Linked DNA regions of Homo sapiens: regions 1, 2, 3, 4, 5 and 6 are each linked to region 7. The links are contacts of gene promoters, found by promoter capture Hi-C in blood cells and fetal thymus (Javierre and others, 2016). All regions are on one chromosome and are shown on one strand. The core of a region is centred on a gene start or on the middle of the fragment in contact, and the rest is flanking DNA. Distances in the headings are between cores, read along the strand shown.

Evidence for each region. Contacts are between HindIII fragments. The CHiCAGO score rates a contact against its expected background, and 5 or more counts as called.
Region 1: a fragment that was not itself captured here is called in contact with the fragment with the promoter of RMDN1 in region 7 in 3 of 17 cell types (non-activated CD4 T cells, naive B cells and total B cells); the score reaches 7.6 in non-activated CD4 T cells.
Region 2: a fragment that was not itself captured here is called in contact with the fragment with the promoter of RMDN1 in region 7 in 1 of 17 cell types (naive B cells); the score reaches 7.3 in naive B cells.
Region 3: a contact is called between a fragment that was not itself captured here and the fragment with the promoter of RMDN1 in region 7, in 1 of 17 cell types (total B cells). The highest score is 8.0, in total B cells.
Region 4: a contact is called between a fragment that was not itself captured here and the fragment with the promoter of RMDN1 in region 7, in 1 of 17 cell types (total B cells). The highest score is 9.2, in total B cells.
Region 5: a contact is called between a fragment that was not itself captured here and the fragment with the promoter of RMDN1 in region 7, in 1 of 17 cell types (non-activated CD4 T cells). The highest score is 5.2, in non-activated CD4 T cells.
Region 6: a fragment that was not itself captured here is called in contact with the fragment with the promoter of RMDN1 in region 7 in 3 of 17 cell types (total B cells, naive CD8 T cells and activated CD4 T cells); the score reaches 6.1 in total B cells.

What each region holds. Positions count from the first base shown.
Region 1 is chr8:89,996,132-89,999,068 of GRCh38, reverse strand. No RefSeq gene overlaps it. Among named protein-coding and RNA genes, the nearest start is that of DECR1, 3.9 kb to the left of the region's middle. The HindIII fragment of the contact is 790 bases long and covers 1,142-1,931 here.
Region 2 is chr8:90,625,080-90,628,070 of GRCh38, reverse strand. TMEM64 (transmembrane protein 64) reads left to right here. Exons shown (of 3, transcript NM_001008495.4): 3 at 2,209-2,991. The coding sequence ends at 2,400. Among named protein-coding and RNA genes, the nearest start is that of TMEM64, 20 kb to the left of the region's middle. The HindIII fragment of the contact is 413 bases long and covers 1,503-1,915 here.
Region 3 is chr8:89,774,111-89,777,112 of GRCh38, reverse strand. All of the region lies in intron 6 of RIPK2 (receptor interacting serine/threonine kinase 2), which reads right to left. Among named protein-coding and RNA genes, the nearest start is that of RIPK2, 18 kb to the right of the region's middle. The HindIII fragment of the contact is 4,773 bases long and covers 1-3,002 here.
Region 4 is chr8:91,081,432-91,084,344 of GRCh38, reverse strand. It overlaps OTUD6B (OTU deubiquitinase 6B), which reads right to left. Exons shown (of 7, transcript NM_016023.5): 6 at 231-337. Among named protein-coding and RNA genes, the nearest start is that of OTUD6B, 13 kb to the right of the region's middle. The HindIII fragment of the contact is 964 bases long and covers 901-1,864 here.
Region 5 is chr8:89,914,688-89,917,841 of GRCh38, reverse strand. OSGIN2 (oxidative stress induced growth inhibitor family member 2) reads right to left here. Exons shown (of 6, transcript NM_001126111.3): 4 at 3,096-3,154. Among named protein-coding and RNA genes, the nearest start is that of OSGIN2, 14 kb to the right of the region's middle. The HindIII fragment of the contact is 840 bases long and covers 1,049-1,888 here.
Region 6 is chr8:90,644,794-90,647,655 of GRCh38, reverse strand. TMEM64 (transmembrane protein 64) reads left to right here and starts at 1,573. Exons shown (of 3, transcript NM_001008495.4): 1 at 1,573-2,545. The coding sequence starts at 1,751. LOC124906712 (translation initiation factor IF-2) reads right to left here and starts at 1,215. Exons shown (of 2, transcript NR_185471.1): 1 at 1,023-1,215. RefSeq lists silencers at 1,167-1,576, 1,707-2,106 and an enhancer at 2,217-2,546. The HindIII fragment of the contact is 3,173 bases long and covers 1-2,862 here.
Region 7 is chr8:86,506,998-86,510,046 of GRCh38, reverse strand. It overlaps RMDN1 (regulator of microtubule dynamics 1), which reads left to right and starts at 1,361. Exons shown (of 10, transcript NM_016033.3): 1 at 1,361-1,555; 2 at 2,935-3,049. The coding sequence starts at 1,427. RefSeq lists an enhancer at 1,447-1,616. The HindIII fragment of the contact is 14,106 bases long and covers 1-2,817 here.

The DNA of each region.
Region 1 (2,937 bases), core at 287-2,786, 3.5 Mb before region 7:
AAAATCAACTGACTTGGGACTGCAAACCAAAAAGTGACTGAGGCAGATCTCTGTGGGTTAGCGATCATTTAGCCAAGGTTGAGAACATGTCTGGGAAAAAAATGCAACTCACAAGAGCATCTGTAACCTATGCTTTTTCCAAAGGGGGTTTTGGGAAATTCTTTATTTAAAAAAGAAAGAGCAAGCAGGAGAGAAAAAAAAAAAAAGGAAGAGAGGGTAGACAGTGAGGCAGATGGTTCCATTCTTTTGAGGCTCTGATTAGCCTCAGTAAATCTACATTTTACATAAGATAAAGTAAACATGTGAAAAGAGGGAGTAGAGGAAATGATGCTATGTCTTGGGATTATGAAATTACAGCTATCAGTTTGGGAACAACGACAACAAAAAAGACAGTATTGGTGACTGAGTTTCCAAGCTTAACTTTCCTTATGGCATAGTGAGTTCACAGTCCCTATATTCTGTTTTTCTTTCACAGGATCTTAGTTGCATCTGCACAATTCTTTCACCTTTGCCATATACTGTTAACTAGAAGTGAGTCACAGTTCCTGTCCATACTTAAGGGAAGGGAATTATACAGAGCATGAATTCCAGGGACTGGGACTCATGGGACCATCTTAGAATTCTGTCTACCACAACCATACATTAGACATGAAAAAGAAGTTTGCAAAAGTTTTAGGTAGACCCCCTGTATTAGTCCATTCTTGCATTCCTATAAAGAAATATCTAAGACTGAGTAATTTATAAGAAAAGAGGTTTAATTTGCTCATGGTTCTGCAGGCGGTACAGGAAGCATGGTGGCATCTGCTTCTGGGGAGGCCTCAGGAAGCTTCCACTCATGGAAGGCAAAGGGGCACACTTTTAAATGACTAGATCTCAGGAGAATTCCCTCACTATGGTGAAGATAGTACCAAGTGGAATAGTGCTAAACCATTCATGAGAAACCTGCCCCCATGATCTAATCACATTCTACCAGGCTCCACCTCCAACACCAGGCATTACATTTCAATATATGAGATTTGGGTGGGGACACACATCCAAACTACGTTACCCACACTCTACAATCTAGTCAGAGGGAAATAGCTACATAAAACACTTAGGCAGCCTGGACTCTGGGTTCTGTTTTACTGTCGTTCTCCAAGCTTGGTACAGAAGCAGAGGGTTGGAACCTCAAAGGAATAAACCAGTTAGGAAAAATATAACCACTAGGAACTGAAAATCAGAGAGGCCTCCCCTAAAGGCCTGTATAGGACTTGGTGTCCTTCTTATGATACCGAGAGGGAAGAAAGGAGACAGGGCACTAAAGATGACTAAGGTTGAATTTCCCACAATTCCCACAATCATGGAGGAATGGATAGGGCTAGGAATGGAATTTAAATAAAATAAAATAAAATGATATTACCTTCATCCTTGAATATATGGTTGAATATTTATACCACTAGCTTGTCTTGAATATGAACAGAAAAAATGGTTATATTATTTTTAATTTTTAATATTTCCTGAAATCAAAAGGCCTAAAAGTGGGGTTCATCTTGTTTCTAAGAAGAAGTTGCAACATTGGTGATATGATTTGGATTTGTGTCCCTACCCAAATCTCATGTCGAATTGTAATCCCCAATGTTGGAATTGGGGCCTGGTGGGAGGTGATTGGATCATGAGGACAGATTTTTCCCTTTGGTGCTATTTCTTCTGATTTCTTATCTGATGGTTCAGCCTTAGTGACTGGCAGACTCCTACACTCCAGCAATGGCTGCTCCCCTCACACACATGCCTCCTCTCCCCACTTTCACATCATCACCCTAGTATGGCTGCCTCTGACCCCATAATCAGGGGTCAGCTTTGATTTTGTTTTCTCAGGAAAAGTTACCTTGACTTCTACACTAATTCAGGTCTTCCTACTAGGGAAGCATCCAAGTTTGGTGGTACCTGAAGCTTATAAACTTTGGGAAGCCATTTAAGAAAAAGATTACAAAATTAGATGCAAAAATGAATATTAACTTACAATATAAGAAGAAATTAGAACAAATTACAAATTCCAAAAAATTTACAGTATCCTAAATTTCACACAAATATAAAGTAATGTTTCAAACTACTTAAATGTCTAACACATCTCTAATTGCAATTTCCGTCTACATTTCGGAGCTGCATTCTCTTTGATCACCTCTTCCTTTATTGAAGATTTTATAAGCATATTTTTAATAGAGAGAATAAGGAGTTCAAGTGCTAAATCATACCTCACACACACTTAGATTTGCCACTCATAGGACCACCACAGATTTGTATCTGGCCAAGACAGAATTTCTAAAAATTTCTATTGTATGCAATTATTATCATATTTTTAAAAAGCATGGTGCATTCATAATAGTAAACACTAAATTGTGAATATTCATGATGGGGACAAACTTCTGTTTTGACTATGCATCCATGAAACCATATCCTCTGCTAACACTTTTACATAATTTGATACTAGCTTATGGCTTCATACACTTTAAACAATTCAAACTTTGCTTCTCCTCCAATTCCCATTTACTTCCAGAGCTGAGTACCACTGGACACTTCTACATTTCAATACCACCTCTGGCCCTGCACATAAATGTCACAAGGTGGGCAGAAAGTATAGTCCAGTCTGCTGGAAGACAGCCCCACCAAAGGACAGTATAGAGCATTAACTCTATAGTGAAGTGACAACAAACCACACAAGTATTTCTGAACTGATCTAAGAAATAAATTAATTCCCCAATTCAGTTTAGCAGACACCCCAACTGCTGGTGACCACTCCAACATCATCCAACATGAGAGGAATTTTGACAGAAATAGGAATGGAAAGAGAATTATTTTAACTCCTTTTGTTAAAATAACTTACTTTTGTGAATTTTACTGGAAAAAAGAAATGGCCCTGGGGCCTTGGAAGAGCTGTGCAAGCAAGAGGCCCTGAAATTT
Region 2 (2,991 bases), core at 460-2,959, 4.1 Mb before region 7:
AGTACAAATCGTCAGGCCCTGGGATCAGAAGTGCAGCTGGGAAAGTCCCACTTAAAGATGTAACCATTTCACCCTTGCTATCTGTGGCCCTGCCACTTCCTTCCCTCAAACTGCTCTTCTTAGGGCTGTCAGTAAGCTTGTCTAAATGAGATGTACTTTCCATTTCTCATCTAGCTTGACCTGTTAGTAGTCTAAGACTCCTGACAGTGCCTTCATTATTAAAACACTCTTTCCTTAGTTTCTTTGATACCACTGTCTTAACTTTTTTTTTCCACTTGCCTAGCTTATGCTTAACTTCTTCCTTTCACCCCTTATATCTGTGTTTTTGAAGATCCTAGCTTAAGTTTTCTAGTCCTACTCTGAAAACTTTTTTACAGCAAATCCAGTTACTCTGATGGTTGCTAATATGTGTATTTGGGTCAAGACCCTCCGCCTGCCCTCATCCTACTCCCCAGCACTTGTCTTTAGCTCAGCCCTCTTTCCATAGCTTCAGACCCCTTCACTGACATCCATGAACTTTTTTGGATATCTAAGAGGCACCTCGAATTCAGCATGTCTTAAACAGAAGGTAGCATCTAATTCACAAAGCACCCGCCCCCGCCCCCATATTTTTTTCATCTCTTTACATGGTGTTTCCATTTGTTGATACATAGCAAACTTAGGAGTTTTCGGTAAATATATCTTGTTTCTTTTAAGAGAAGTAACAGAAAACAGTTACAGAATTTAAAGACCCAGCTTTAAGATGCCTAACTTATTTACGATTTTACTGAGTGATGGGTACTCATTTAATGGCACCCCCTTGTGCAAGTTCCAAGTTCCTCCCCTCTCACACTTACCATACCCCCAGTATGCTCTGCTTCTGTTATCTCCTCCCCCAACCACCCTCAGCACTTGGATTTAGAATACTTTCCCTTTAAAGCTTATGTTATAATTATGGGTAGATTTCATTGAAATTGTATTATATTTCCGTATCACTTTTGGTTACAGCAGCCTTTGTAAACTTGCTGGGACATTAAATAACACCTGCTGTGTTTGCTCCAAATCCTAAAGAACTGATTTACAAATGAACTTTGGAATAAAACTCATTTAGAAAATGTACACTGCTTAGACATTCTGAGGAGCTGTACATAGAATGCTAAAGTTGGCCGGGCACTGTGGCTCATGCCTGTAATCCCAGCACTTTGGGAGGCTGAGGCAGGCAGATCATGAGGTCAGGAGTTTGAGACCAGCCTGGCCAACATGGTAAAATCCCGTCTCTACTAAAAATACAAAAATTAGCCAGGCGTGGGGCGCATGCATGTAATCCCAGCTACTCAGGAGGCTGAGGCAGGAGAATCACTTGAACCCGGGAGGCATAAGTTGCAGTGAGCCGAGATTGTGCCACTGCACTGCAGCCTGGGCGACAGAGCGAGACTCCATCTCAAAAAAAAAAAAAAAAAAAGAAAGAAAAAAAAAGTACAGAGGGACCACAGCTTCCTATAGGACAATGAGAAACTGAAGCTTCCCTAAATCACACATCACTAGTGAATAGCTAAGCTAAGACTAGAAACCTGACTTTCAATTTGATCAGTGTGATGATTTTTCTAGTATCCCTTTGACTAACATTTTTAAATAATCATCATGTTTTCCTCTGATTTTGTTTTTTCCTAAGTACAGGCAATTACTTGTTCACAATCTCTTGTTAATTCTTTGGAAGTTTATTGGCATTTCATTTTTTTAAGTGGTCTGTAATACTTTTAATTTTGTCTTCACCAGGTAGTTCATTGCAAATAGTAGTGCTTCTCACTAAGTGGGCTTAGAAATACCTATGGACATTTATAGTCATGCAAAGGTATAATACTACATTAATTATACCAACAAAGTTTAGCCAGCTGTTACCTCTATTGTAGACATTTTTTATTCCTTGAAGAAAGCTTTTTGGTACAAAGAGACAGGTTTGGCTTGTATCAAGTGAACCAAAAGGAATGTGTGTTTTCCTAATACCATGTCATGGTTACCTGTAGACTTTGGTCCTCCACTACCAGGAGAAGCAGCAAAGGAAAGAATAAACAATAACTGTGTGTAAACTATTTAAAAATGTATAACCCTTTACCTACCATCTTTGAGAAGCACCCTGTTTGAAGCATTTCTAAGCCAAATATTTATTGGATTTATTTCTTTTTTTTGTATAAAATATTGATAACTGTAATGTTTTATTTTTATTCACAGATTATTATAAGTATAGGCCTCATGTTTTATGTAGTTCATCGAGCTCAAGTGGAATTGAATGCAGCTATTGTAGCTTGTGAAATGGAACTGAAATCTTCTCTGGTTAAAGGCAATCAACCAAATACCAGTGGCTCTTCATTCTACAACAAGAGGACCCTAACATTTTCTGGAGGTGGAATCAATGTTGTATGATTCTAATGAGATACGTGATTGTCAAGAGCCTAGTGTGCTATCTAAGGTCTAGCAGTCACTTCACTAGTGGGCAGAGACAAGTTCTAATTGTATTACAGCACAAACAAAACTGACTAGTTTTTAAATTGCACAATTTTTTTTTTTTAAAGCAAGAATCATTTTCTGGGTATGTAAGTGTAAATGTAGATGCAAATTTGGCTGCACCTCTTTATCATGCCTGTATTGGCCTATAGGTCTGCACTTTAGTGTTTTTTAATTGTTTTATTTCTGTGTATTTACGAACAGAGAAATAACCCAAATATTATTTCTGCTTAGTGTCTTTATTTATAAAGCCCATGAGTAGTTTGTATGCATCTTTCCTACTTGTAAAGATGAGTAAAAGTATGCAGTTTTAAATTTATAATATTATTGGATGTTCTTTGCTTTGGTAGTCTTTCCAGAAAGGATAAACAGTGGTTTTTGTTTTGTTTTGTTTTATTGTTTAAGTGGGACCACTTAGCTTCCCGTTTCCTTACTAGTTAAAGAACAGACATTAATTTTCAGTTGAATGTATTTTTGCAGGCATCATATTGTTACAGGGCCATTTACACC
Region 3 (3,002 bases), core at 164-2,663, 3.3 Mb before region 7:
CCCTTCTGGTGCAATGTCCTATGAAGTCTGTCTGCCTTGGTCTACCCACACTGTCATCCCTGTTTCCTTGACCCTGAGTGTCCACTGGGTTCCACCTGTTTCCTCTCCCCATGCTGCATCTAGAAACTCTCAAGGCAGGAAGCTGGGCAATCGGAAGGCTCACTTCATTTGTTTCCCATCCATCAGAGATTGCTGCTCTTTGTTTCCTGATATTTAGTGTCTTAAAAACCAGTTTCACATATTTTGTCTAGGTTTTTTGGTTGTTTCAGGCAGGAGGGTAAATTGGCCCCAGTTACTCCATCTTGGCCAGAAGTGGGGTCGCTGGTTTCTCTAAATTAACGGCCCAAACTAGACACTAAATACCACTTCTCAGCAATCCTATTTTGCTTCCTAAATACATCTACTATTCTGTTCTCATAGATAAGTGGTTCTTAAAGTGTGGTCCAGGGACCCCTGGCGGGGGTGGTTCCTGAGGGTTCATGAAGTCAAAACTATATTCAAAATAACAAGTACTAAGACATTATTTTCCCTGTTCACTGTCATCCCCAAACAAGTATATAGTGGATTTATCCAGAGGCCCATAAATAAGGTGTGATAAGATCACTGCTTCAACAGATAATGGAATGTGTTCTTGTATATTCCTACATTTTAAAATTCCTTGGTTTTAATTTCTAATACAGTAAATGCTAATAGATATTACCCACACATACAAAAGCTCTTTGAAGTCCTCAATAATTTTGAAGAGTCTTGAGATCTAAGTTTGAGAATTGCTGTCTTACATAATTATCTCGTACTGTTGGAGGAGACACTTAAGTCCTTTTCTTCATGTTTCCAACAGGAAGATGACATTTCCAGTTCAATCCTCAGGAAAGAGAAGTATAGGAGGAATTCTTCCAGCTCCTTTCTGCCCCTCAGACTTACCTCATTTATTAAACTTGGAGAAAAACTAAGCATGCTTATTTGGTACCTTTGCAGTTTTCTCCTTCTTTTAAAAGTCAGCTTGCCTAAAGAATGCATACATTTTCTGCTTCCCTATGTAGAAGCAGGGTGAGGCCTGTGGTGGGCTGGTAAAGCTATCAACTGTAGGGGTAAAATGCTACTAAGCCCATTTGGCTGCAGATCTAAAGGTACATTCTCCAATTAGCTTTATCAGTAATGAAACTGATATTCTGATCAACATCTATCTTTCTTCCTCGGCTTTTTCTTAATATATTCTGAACTTAGAAAGGGAAGGCAGGGGTAATAGGCATTGTACTTTATCTTCCCTTTTTCAGCCTCTTACATCCCATCCTCCATGTTTCCTTTGAGCTAGCTGATCATCTGCTCTCATACTACACTGAGAAAATAGAAGCCATGAGAGGGAATTCCTTCAGGGTTCTATAACCAGATCTACAAACTTCTTGTACTTGTATCCATCTCTCCAACCTCATTTCTCTTACAGTAGAAAAAAGTGTCCATATACTCATACAAATGTAAACAGTATCACTTGCATTCTGAATACCATTTCCTCCACCTCTCCAGCATTCTGTTTCTGATACTCTCTCTCAGTTCTTGCACTGACAATCTCTGACTCTCTACTGGATCATTTTTTCCAGTAGAGTATTTTTTCCAGATAAAGTAATCTATCTTTCTCCAGGATTTTTTTTTTTTATTTAAGAAACAGCATTTTGCTTTGTCAGCTAGGCTGGAGTGCAAGTGCAGTGGCACAATCAAGGCTCACTGCAGCCTCAACATTTTGGGCTCAAGCAATCCTCCTGCCTCAGCCTCCCAAGTAGCTGGGATTACAGGCAACGAACCATGTCTGGCTAATTTTTTATTTTTTTTTTATTTTTATTTTTGTTGAGACAAGGTGTTGCTGTGTTGCCTAGGCTGGTCTGGAACTCCAGAACTCAAGTAATCCCTCTGCCTTGGTCTCCCAAAGTGCTGGGATTACAGGCATGGGCCACTGTGCCTGGCCATAGGAAAAAATTTTGACCCCATATCATCCTTTAGCTATCACCTCATTTTTTTCTGCTTCTGTTCAGAGCCAAGCATCTTGCTGGAATTTTCCATATTTGCCTTCACTTCTTTCTATTTTTTTTAAATGTACATCAGTCTTCTGTTTACATCTCTCTATTAAAACTCCATTTGTTTGGATTACCGGTGATGACAATGTTGGAAAATCCTGCTTATCTCATTTGGCCTCCTGGCAGATTAAACATGTCCGACTATACCCCTCCTTGACTTCCAAGACACAAGGACTACACTCTCTACTGTCTTCTCTTCCTTAATCCTTTTTCTTCTTCCTCTTCTCAATTTCTAAGTGCTGGAATGCCTCAGAGCTTTACTATGGGTCCTCTCTTTGCTATGTATATTCCCTTCTTAGATGAACCAGTCCAGACTATCAATATGTTAGTGATGTTCAATTTTATATTAGGATCCTGGACTCTTCCTGGAACAACAGATTCATGTATTGTTGTAGTAGTAGCAGCAGTAATTATGACCGTTTCTACTTGCTGGCTATTATAAACAATGCTGCTATCACTAATCACATACAACTGTGTGAACATATGTTTTCATTTCTCTTGGTTTACCTGTTAGTGGATTGCTTGGTTGTATGGTAAATTTATCTTTCATTTTTAAGAAACTGCCAAACCGTTTTCCAAAGTGGCAGCATCATTTTATATTCCCACCAACAATGTATACGGATTTTGGTTCTGCCACATCACTGTCAACACTTGTTATTTTCTGTCTTTAATTATAGCTATTTTGTGGGTATGAAGTGGTAACTCATTGCAGTTTTAATTTGCATTTCCAAATGACTAATAATATTAAGCATCATTTTATGTGCTTTTTAGCTATTTGTATATCTCCCTTGGTGAAATTCAAATCTTTTACTCATTTAAAAATAGGGCTATATGTCCTATTATTGACTTGTCAGGGTTTTTTATATATTCTAGAATCAAGCCCTTTAGCAGATACATGTTATGCAAATATTTTCTCCCAGTCTGTGGCTCTGCTTT
Region 4 (2,913 bases), core at 133-2,632, 4.6 Mb before region 7:
TTGAAACTTTTAGCATTACTAATGTCAAACCAGGACAGTATACAAACTAGTCCTAAAATGTTATAACCTTTAGAAATGACTTTATTCTAAACTCACACACAAAAATAAATCGCTAGAGGTTTAAAAAATTATCTAAGTCACATATTTTAACACATATAATCTAAATTTTTTAATATTCCTTTTTGTATTAATTGTGAAAAATAAAACAGTAAAAATGTCTAGGTACTTACACAAGTATTAGTGGTTTTTTTGAATATTCTTCACCAACTATAATGGGAGGAGAATCTGCCTGTATTATCTCTATTGGTGTTTGTAAAATGTGAGACAGAGCTCTTAGCTATAGGAAGAAAAAAAGTATCAGTAAGGAAAATAAAAATGTAAATCACATTCAAATATGTGTGAACGGGCAACCAGTCAGAGCAGGGATACGCTGTGTTCACCACTGTACACAGAGAGCCTGGTATATACTGGGCACTTAATAAATATCTGTTGAATAAATAAATATAATACAGGTTGAATATCCCTTATCCTAAATGCCTGGAACCAGAATTGTTTTAGTTTTTGAATTTTTCAGATTTGGGAGTATTTGCATATACTACATGAGATATCTTGAGGATGGGACTCAAATCTAAACACAAAATTCATTCATGTTTCATACATATCTTACACACACACCATGAAGGTAATTTTATACATTTTAAATAACTTTGTGCATGAAACTAAGTTTGAACTGTGACCTGTCACATAAAGTCAAGTGTAGAATTTTCCACTTGTGATGTCAGCCCTCAAAAAATTTGATTTGGGAGCATTTCGAATTTCAAATTTTCAGATTAGGGATGCTCAACTTGTATTTATTAAATCAAATGCAGAGACTGCTCAAGCCCTGCCTGCACAAAAGCTTTGTAAAAAATATCAATGCCACAGTTAATGAAGAGGGGCAATGGGTAGACTAGGTATATTATACTAGTCTACTTTTGAATACGCTTGAAAATGTTCATAACAAAAAAAATTTTTAAATACCATTGCTCAAGCACCGGACCAAATAAATTACAATGTGAGAAAATGGGCAGGGGGAAGAACAAAATATTTATTTTTTTAAAGTTTTTCAGATGATTCTAATCTACAAATACTGTTGACAACCACTGTTCTATAATTTTCAAAGAGTAGAATATGTATATGAATTGTACTGCCCTATCAATGAATTTCTATTTGATTAAAATATACAATTTTAAGTAATTTCATACCATACAATATAAAATTAGAGCCTAAAGCCAGATGAATAATGGTGAATATTGAACATTAATGCTAACATTTTTAAAGACTTATTATGATTACGGGCCAGGCACAGTGGCTCACACCCATAATTCCAGCACTTTGGGAGGCCAAGGTAGGCAGATACCTTGAGTCCAGGCATTCGAGACCAGACTGGGCAACATGGTAAAACCATGTCTCTACAAAAAAATACAAAAATTAACCAGGCATGATGGATCACTTGAGCCCGGGAGGCAGAGGTTGCAGTGAGCCAAGATCACGCCACTGTACTCCAACTGGGGTGACAGAGTGAGACCCTGTTTCAAAAAAAAAAAAAAAAAAAAAAAAGACATATGACCAAACACTCAAGCATTTTAAGTACTTTATGTGTATTAATTCCTTTAATCCTCTCAATAACTTTATGGGATGGGTACTGTCGTTATTTTAAAGACCTAGAATCTGAGGCAAAAAAAGGGTTACAAGACTTGTCAAAGTCACTTGAACTCAGGCGTTCGAGACCAGCCTGGGCAACACAGGGAGACCCCGTTTCTACAAAAAATACAAAAATTAGCCAGGCATGGTGGTGCAGCTACTCAGGAGTGGGAGGAAAGCTTAAGCCTAGAAGATTGAGACTGTAGTGAACAATGATGGGTGGCACCACTGCACTCCAGCCTGGGTGACAGAGTGAGACTCTGTCTCAAAAAGAAAGTAAAAATCATAATGCCCCGATCTATGGGGGCACTATGGGATATGTACTTGCCCCATTACAAGAACATTCCATTGATGAACATACTCCTTCCTGAGGTTTTGAAAGAATTTAAGAAATTACTTCAAAAATATGGAAAGCACTCTGCTGCATGGTGGTAAATCAAAAACGTTCCTTTGAGGTACATTTTTCTTATACCTAAAATATCATTTTTAAGAAACTAGCATAGAATAGAGGATGCGAACCAAACTCTGGGAATCCTACTATGCCTTCTAACTTCAGAGATCATAGAATGATTTTCTTTAATAACTTAAATTTACTCTATTGTGAAAACTGCAACTCTTACTTCAAATGAATTCACAGATGAAAAAAATGTATAAGTGTCCCTCAAAAGATGTTTTAAAAGGTTTTTCTTAATTTCTTGATTTAATCTCTAATACTCATATGAATGATCCTTTTAAGAAAGTTCAAGCATTTTTAATTATTCCTAATGTAGTAGTAACAAAGCTACTATGAACATTTCCTGAGTTTCCGAGGCATACAAAACTAATGGATACAGTTCCCTCTGGTGGAAATGCACATACACAGCAGTACTAAGAAAAAGATTTTGGGGCAACATTCATGTTGCATCTTCAAATGAAGCAGTTCTTAAAGTGAATTATTTAGAGCCACAGACTATTCATGATGATTAATCATCATTATATATTACTAATCGTACTGCCTAGGTTCATCCATCTGGCACTTCAGCTTACAAACTTTTATGCAGGTACTCTCTGCCTTACTTAATGCTCAAAAATGCTCAACTGAATACACAGAGAGGGTTTATTATGGCCATATAGTAATCAAGAAACTCAAGCTTGGGAGGATGGCTGACTCCCCTGTGGCCACAAAACAGAGGGGTGGAAGAAAATGCCAGGACCTGAACCCAGAACTTTCTTTCTTATCCTATTTAATAC
Region 5 (3,154 bases), core at 219-2,718, 3.4 Mb before region 7:
AATGTGGCTGGAAGGTGAGCCTTAGTAGTAATATCTCTTCCATTATAACAGGGGATTAAAAAAAAAGAATTTGCATCAATGTGTAAGTTTTCGGTTTGAGTGTGAAATTGTGGAAGTTCAATCCTAATGGATTACATTTTATCTGTAAAATAAGAACCAAGACCACTTCTAAGCATGAAAGAAAAAAAAGAGATAAAGGTTTGAAAAGAAGTTAATAAGGAAATATCAAAGGTTATAGTAGTGTTTTGGCCCCAACTGAGAGTGGAGAATATTTTCACAGTTGTATAATTTTTTTTCTGGGGGTCTGACTGCTCAAGTGTAAGAAAAGATAAAGTGGATAGTTAGATGAATTGCCTGTATGACAAACCTATGTGACAGAAGGACAATGGGTTAAGGGAATTAAAGAGAATAGTTAACTCCATGGACTACAGAAGCTGGGCTGGGTAAGTAAGGATATGAAGATCACAGCCTGGAGCACGCTCTGTGTTCAAAGATTATCTATAGTGTGAATTAACTGGGTGATAAGCTTGAAGAACAGGAAACTGTGATCAGAAAGGAAGACATTTGAGAATTTAGGTTTTTACAAGTTGAGTAGTTATGACAGATAAGATCTACAGTGGAGCCACTGGAGTGAGTAGCTAATGAAGAATACATCATCATCAAGAATGAGGAGACCAAGGAACAAAAAGGTTAAGATCTTGGTTCTGTGTCATGTTTGTAGAGGTAAAATTATTCAAGGTGGTAACAAAACTTGGGATATAATGGAAGACCCATGAATTAGGTGCCACAGATTCAGTAACTGGAGACAGTCTGGAATGGTAAAAAAGCCAGAAATGGAGACAGTCTGGAGACAGTCTGGAATGGTAGAAAAGCTAGAAAATGGCATCATCTGTTCAATGGAACAGGGCTTTTTACACAAGTGCATAGGGGTGTGAAGAGAAGACCAACCTTACTAGCCAACCTGATGGGACATAGGGCTATGGGAGAATGAATAGGCTCCACTTCAGAGGGCTACAGTGGGAATGGTATCTTTAGGAAAGAGTAAGCTTTCAAGAAAGGGAGCAGAAGCAGCATCTGACAGAATGGTTAAAGATGTGGGAAAGCAAACAAGTTGTTTATCACAAAATTGGTTCAAGGGGCCACAGAAAGTTTGGAAGAGAGAAGAGTGATGAGAAACTAGATCACAAGAGAAACAGAGAACTATATGAAGCTAAGTAGGAGAGAGGGGTGATGACTCAAGGAGTTTACGTCTTAAGTCACAACTCAGGTTAATTAGGATGTACATAAACCATAGCAGGGGAGATGGTCGCATAAACAGATAAATAGTACCACAGGCAAGCACAGTAAGATTAAGATATGGAATGCAGGTAGGATCAAGTAATTATGTCTGGGAACATTAGGAACCTTCACAGAGGTGATGACTGGCAACTGGTACACAGCTGAAATATTACTTACAGCCCTATTTTAGTGAATACATGCCTGAAAAAAATCAGCAACTTTTAGGTATATTTTAACCTTTATCACTGGCTCAAAATGTGTTTTTAGTAATCAGGGTTTATCCATACTTTCTAACTTTTTTATACATAAGTGAAAGAAATGAAACAGATCAATTATCGCCTGCACAACTCATCATTCTTCTAAGCGGAAAAAATGTAAGTAAAATAAAACCTCAGGAATTCAGAGAAGGCAGTCTAAATGCCCTCCCCACTTCCAAATACATTATGGCTTTTTTTAAAATTAAGAATGCTACTAATTAACAGAGAAAATATAAACACTTAAGTTTTGGGCATGATAGAATTCTTTCTTATCTTGTATTGGTGGTTTCACAGTTACAGGCATTTGTCAAATTATACACTCTAAATGGATGCAGCTTATTGTAAATAAAGCTTAAAGTTGATATGAAAAAGTAAAAATCATAAAACTTAAGCTAAAAGCAACAAATAATTTGGTAGTTGCTACTCATTATTAAAAAGAGAATAAAGATTTTAAAAGAAACCCATGACGTATTTAATCTAGGAATGTCCCGATACCCTGAAACAGTCATTTTATAAACGTAAACAACTTTTCAGATGTGCAAAACTGCACTAATACACGAACAGCCAACCGAAGTTTGTACTAAAAATTTGGTATGTAATATGTTAAAGTTCCCATGAAGTCTGTAATTCATAACACAGCAAACTAAATTACTTAACATCAATTTGTATAACAAATGAACACTCACTACACACTAGACACAGTGTTAACTGCTAAGAACACAGGAAGGATGAACAATTATTACTTACTGGCCCCCTAATGAAATGCACTGAGTGAATCCTTAATTCACTGGTTCTCTGGTTTAACCTCTGCTATGAACCGAATTGTATCTACCCTCAAAATTCTTACGTTGAGGTCCTGACCCCCAATGTGATGCTTTTGGAGATGGGGCCTTTGGGAGGTAAGTAGAGCTAGATGAGGTCATGAGGGTAGGTCCCTCAGAATGGGATTACTGGCTTCATAAGAAGAGAATATTTCTCTCTCTCTGCTATGTGAGGACACATTGAGAAGGCAGCTATCTGAAAGCTAGGAAGAGGGCCTTTACCAGGAACTGAACTGGCTGGAACCTTCATCTTGGGACTTCCAGCCTCCAGAACTGTGAGAAATAAATATGTTGTTTAAGCCATCAATTCTATGGCATTTTGTTATCGCAGACAAGCAGACTAACACAACCTCTTTTACATTTTTCATTTAAGATTCTGAAAATGTAAGAAAATAATGGATACTGCTTTGAAATACTATGTGAGATTATGTAAAGTCTAAAATGAATTGAGTTTTAAATTTTTATTATACAAAACATTCTTGAAATGTTTTCTACATAATTCTTGTAAGATAGTATAGAGACATGCTTATTCTAAGACTGTACCAGTAATAAAATTTGGCTTGATTTACTGCTACTTGTAATAAACCCATATTTAACTAACTGAACAGCATTAAAGTTCTTCTCAAATAAAAATGTGATAAACATCACATATAACATTATCATAATGCTTAAGAATAAAGTTGGTCTTATCAAGACAAATAATTCACATACACTAAAATGCTAAGAAAAATATACTCACATGCCAAGCCCCACCAGGTGGACCTTTACCAAGAACTACGTGAGGGATATAATGATGTT
Region 6 (2,862 bases), core at 68-2,567, 4.1 Mb before region 7:
TCCCTCCTTGGTACTGTTTTACGGAAGTAAAACTTTAGGTAAATGCTGTGGCAGCAGTAAGAGCTGCTCCTCCGTGTGAGTCACAAGGCTTGGAAAAGAGAGTTGAAGGATGTAGCACTTGCCTGGCACCTAGTAGGGACTCTACCTGACTCAGCCCAACCAGGGTGGATAGGAGGGAATGGCATGGAGGAGCCTGATCAGCCAGCAAGCAGGAGCCTGATCAGCAACGACCTAAGGTGTCCTGGTCCGTTATCTGGCAGGCAACTGGGTGGAAGGTCATCCACTGAGATATGAAACCCAGAAGGAAGAGTCGGTCTATGGGGGATCACACTTTTAATGAGGGATACCATCACATAGTTAACATTTACTGACGACTGATTTCAGGCATAGTGCTAATCACCTTACTTTACTATTTTGTTTAATCCTCACAACACTCTTACGAAGCTAAGTTGTACCATTATCTCCATTTTGCAATTTAAAAAGAAACAATGAGATTCAGGGACTGATTGTTTGACCAGTTACTAAACGTGATTTGCACCAGAGCCCAAGTTGATCATCTATCTACCAAGCTCTGCTGAGTTTGAGCTGCCTGCAGAATTCCACCTGGATGTGTCCACAGGCCGGACCACAAGCTGGGAAGTGTGGGCAGAGACATTCACTTAGGGGTCACTTCTTATGGGGGGCACGGCAGGATCAAAGCTGTTGGGCCTGGATGAGATGGCTCAGGAAACTCTGAAAAGGAAGACGGCAAGAGGACCTGGGGAACACTAACCTTAAACAGGCGGAAAGAGGAAAAGAAACCAGCGAATGAGTTTGAGAAGCTGCCCTCTGAGAAAGCGAACTCTTAAAAATGTCCTTCAGTGAATCTTTTTCAAATGCCCCTAGACCAATGCCTGGCACTCGATAAAGGACCTCTGGAGTCAGAAGGGGCGTTCTGTCAAGGGGGTGGGGGGACTTTATGCCTAATTTTTCCAGCTCCTAAAGGACCAAGCCATATGAAACCCACAGGGAGACCTCGATACCTGGGAGGCAAGTCTGAGACAAGAATAGGGTCAAGGACCATAGCCAAACCCTCCTCAGAACACAAGAACTCTTTCCCCCATTCGACAGGGCAGCGGCGGATGTGAGCGCCACTCACAGCTGCCCGCTCTGATAAGAGGTTACTGCGGAAACGACCAGGAGGGAACGGGCGAGGATCCAAGCCGCTCACGGACTGGGGTCGCCTCGGTCCGAGAGGGGGAGCGCGCGCCCTGACACGCAGGCATGCGCGCGCCTGTGGGAAGTCGGGGAGCGCGCCTGGGCCCCTGCCCGTCGCCCGGCTCTCCCCTCGTTGCAGCCTCGCTCTCCCTAGAGCTCCTTCTCCCCTCCCAGTGGTTTCCCTCCGCAGCTGTGGGCCTCCGCTGGCCCACGCGGACGCCCCGCGACCCCCGCAGCCTGGCGGGCAGCGCGTCACGGGAGCGGACCAGAACACAGCCCGCTCCGCCCCATCGCCCGCGGCCCCGCCCCCTCTGGCCGACAAGGGGCGGGCACCACCGGAGTGGGCTCCGTGGGTGCTGGGGCAGGAGTTTCCTCACTCCCCGCCTGGCCGTCGCTCCTCCGCTGACTCCGCGCCCTTCTACGGGCCGTCTCCCACCCTCTGAGCGGACGCAGGGAGTCGATGCCGGGCGAACCGGGCGCCATGAAGGGCAGCTGCCTAACGGGCGCCGCGGCGGAGGGGCTGGCCGGCTGAGGGCCCGCGCTGGGCCGAGGCATGCGGAGCCCGGGCGGGATCCTGCTCCAGGCGCTGCCCCGGCTGCTGCAGCACGCCGCCCTCCCGGGCCTCGCCGAGCTGCCGGCCCGCTGGGCCCTGCCGCGGGGTGCGGGCGGGGACGGCCCGGCGGACCGCCTTCCCCGCGGGGGCGGGGCGAGCGCGGCGGCGGCAGCAGCGGCGGCCTCGGGCGCCCTGCTCGGCGCCTATCTGGAGCGCCACGGTCCGCCCGAGGCTTCGGAGCTGCCGGAGCCGGGCGGGGCCTTGGCGGGCGGCCCCGGGAGTGGCGGCGGCGGCGTGGTGGTCGGCGTGGCTGAGGTGAGAAACTGGCGCTGCTGCTGCCTCGGCAGCACCTGTTGGTGCCGGAGCCTCGTGCTGGTCTGCGTGTTGGCCGCCCTGTGCTTCGCTTCCCTGGCCCTGGTCCGCCGCTACCTTCACCACCTCCTGCTGTGGGTGGAGAGCCTTGACTCGCTGCTGGGGGTCCTGCTCTTCGTCGTGGGCTTCATCGTGGTCTCTTTCCCCTGCGGCTGGGGCTACATCGTGCTCAACGTGGCCGCTGGCTACCTGTACGGCTTCGTGCTGGGCATGGGTCTGATGATGGTGGGCGTCCTCATCGGCACCTTCATCGCCCATGTGGTCTGCAAGCGGCTCCTCACCGCCTGGGTGGCCGCCAGGATCCAGAGCAGCGAGAAGCTGAGCGCGGTTATTCGCGTAGTGGAGGGAGGAAGCGGCCTGAAAGTGGTGGCGCTGGCCAGACTGACACCCATACCTTTTGGGCTTCAGAATGCAGTGTTTTCGGTAAGTGGGGTCCCGCTGGCCTATCCCTCTCCAAGTCTGTTTTTGAGCGGTCTTGTGGCGGCCCTAGGAGGGCGCTCTATCAGATAAATACCAGCAGAGAAGTGACATTGACGGCAGGAGTTACGATTACTTTCCATCGCAGCCTGGGAAGTCTGTCCTACACATAAAACATACCTAACGCGGAGCCTCGAAAGAGAGTTTGTTAGATAAAAAACTAATGTTTCTTTTAGGGATGGGAATGTAATTAAAAATGAAAAGCCCTCTTAACAATAGGCATGCAGGGACATGAATGGAAATGCCCATCTTTAATACTTGTC
Region 7 (3,049 bases), core at 112-2,611:
TTTTTCAAAGCTAAAAACTTAATTACAAATTCACTCTAGCAGAGATATCAGAAACTTAATTTCACTGTTATCATGGTATCCAGTGGCATAAACATTTAGCAATGTTGAGGGGGTAGCTGCCAGTAGAAATGCATAAAATAAAAGTGATTCTGTCTTTGGGAAAAAACAGCTAGGTTTCAGAAGTTGGGAAGGAGATCTATATATTTTTAAAGATAGACTTTAAAGACATAATCCTAAAGAAATACAGCTGATTTAATGGGACTAGTGGAGGTAGCAATCATATAGTAGAAGGAGCACTGGACTCAGAGTAGAAAGACATGGATTCCTGTCTTCTAACATATCCTTGGTTAGGTTAATACATCTCTTTGAGTTACAGTTTTTTCATTTGTAAACCTGGGATACCACTTACTTCACAAGGTAGTTCGGAAGATCAATACGACTATGTATTAATTCCCTATACAGTATTAAAAGTACCATAGAAATGCAACCTAATTTTTTAAAACCATGACTCGCCTCCCTTATTACCCATAAGATTTTTCGTTAAACCCATATAGTAGGTACTCCCTTTGCAGTCTGTGTTTCCACCCACCCTGATCAGGCCTCAAGTAGGATCCAAAATTTCTTCATTTTCCCACAAAAGAATTCCACTCGAGCAAGAAATTTTATTTTACTCGAGTAAAATAAAATACTTTGCTCGAGTAAGTAAAACATCTTATTGAAGAATTTTAGGGGAGACCAGGGTTTGTTTTTGTTTCTGTTTTTTACTACACATGCCCTAGCATTCAAGGGCATCAGTATCCTTTCCAGAGGCCTCCTCCCGCTAGTTCCTCTTCCCAAAACGCTTTGCATTTTTTGTTTCTTTGCTCTGGACTCTCTCTTGAATCTACCCCCTTGAGTCGCTCAGTCGAAGAGACTGAGACTTTCCCTTCTTCATGTTGGGCAACATAATTCTTCCAATTATTTACTTCCAAAAAAGACCCACTAGTACCAAGATTCAATCTACTTTTGAAGGCAGCAGATAATTAAAATGACAATTTTTTTTCTGGCATACTTGTATTCTCGGGTCTATTTCCGAGCTTTCAGTTCTATTCTGGCGACGAATCCTTGTGCCCAAACCATGAAAGACCCCCTAGAGAGATGGAGCAGAAACAAGTCAGAGCGCCTGAAGAGAGCGCTCTCACGGCCTCAGTCCTGGACGCAGGCGCGGAAAGTCCATTAAGTCCCACCCAATCGGGGTATTTCCCACCCCCTAAGCCCGTGCACCGGAAACCATGGGGGCGGAAGAGGTGCTGGGCAGGAGGCGGAAGAGGTGCTGTGCAGGAGGCGGGCGGGCGCGGTTCTTTCCGGAAGGATTGAATCTCCTTTAGCCCCGCCCGCCTCCGTAGCTGCCTGAAGTAGTGCAGGGTCAGCCCGCAAGTTGCAGGTCATGGCGCTGGCTGCTCGACTGTGGCGCCTTCTGCCTTTCCGACGTGGAGCCGCCCCGGGGTCTCGTCTCCCTGCGGGGACTTCGGGCAGCCGCGGGCATTGCGGCCCCTGTCGATTCCGCGGCTTCGAGGTACCCCCGTGGTCCTGGCTCCCGCTCCTCACTTCCTACTCAGTGGGTTCCGGCTCCCCCTTAACTTAAGTGGTGGCGGCCCCGCGCTGCCTAAGGAATGTGGTGAACCGAGGAAAGAACTCGGGGCCACTGTGCCTGGAACGCCCGGACAGGTCCCTTCCATTTTGCAAACCTCCACTATCCTTAACTGGGGCTGTCAGAGAAGGAGTGGGGTTTGCCCCCACGCGCCCCAGAAGCTGCCTGCTACCCGCCCTTCTTGTGCGAAATGTAAAACAGGACGGGAAAGAACCTTGACCGCTGTGAAATTATTCTCCCTGTAGGCGATGACAGATACAACAGCGCTTGAGGCTGCCCCTTTCAGACTTTGAAAAGTGTGGTGTGTGATTTAAAAAGTTCTACGACTCAGAAGCAGAGATTTCATACTGTTTAGGTTTTTGTTTAAAAATGTTTATTTCTCAGTTGCCCGTTGTATCTGCATAACGTCAATGAAGGTTGTCGGCATGTTGTAGTCTCAGTTCTGGTATTTCTATTAGACTGCTCGTGGGCCTCTGTTTATTCTTGTCAGGGAATTGGAATGGCATTAATGCATATGATATATTTCACATGAACTAGGGGTTTCATTATTTTAAACTCAAATTTTTAACTGCTCAGTTAAAATCTTTCAGAATTATTATGGGACTGATGGTGGGGAGGGGTGGTTAAAATTTGGCATATTCCCCTTCCTTGGAAGTTTATAACCAAATGGGGAGGTTATAGATAATATAGGCAGAGAGATGGGAGGAGTTCTAAGTATGAAACTAGTTAGCCGTAAGTTTTCAAATTGGAACAATGATGAGTTTGAAGTCCCATTTTAGGCCTGGCCCCTTGGCTCAGCCTGTAATCCCAGCACTTTGGGAAGCCGAGGCGGAAGGATTGCTTGAGTCCAGGGGTTTGAAACCAGCCTGGGCAACACAGTGAGACCCTGTCTCTACAAAAAAATTTAAAAGTTAGCCATGTACATTTTTATATGTAGTAATTACTATATATGATAATCTTGTCTGTAAGATTCATTTTTATTATGTGTTGGTGTCTCATATTTTACTTCATACAATTTGCAATATCCATGCATTTGCAAATAAGTTGTAGCAAATAAGTTGTAGCTCTTCCTTTCCAGCAGGAGTGTGATTTTTAGATGAGCGGCGACTCCAGGGGATATCTTTTTCTCAATAAGATACGCTTTGAGATAGTTTTACTAAAGATTTTGATGAAGTAATTTTTAAGCTTCCAGTATTATGATCGATTGCTTTGGGGGTGGGAGAAAATTCATGTAATTTTTGCTTGGGGTAGCAGTACCTTCAAATTTTCAAAGTTTGTAACTCTTAACATAATTGTTTCCATAGGTAATGGGAAACCCAGGAACTTTCAAAAGAGGCCTTTTACTCTCAGCTTTGTCGTATTTGGGTTTTGAAACTTACCAGGTTATCTCTCAGGCTGCTGTGGTTCATGCCACAGCCA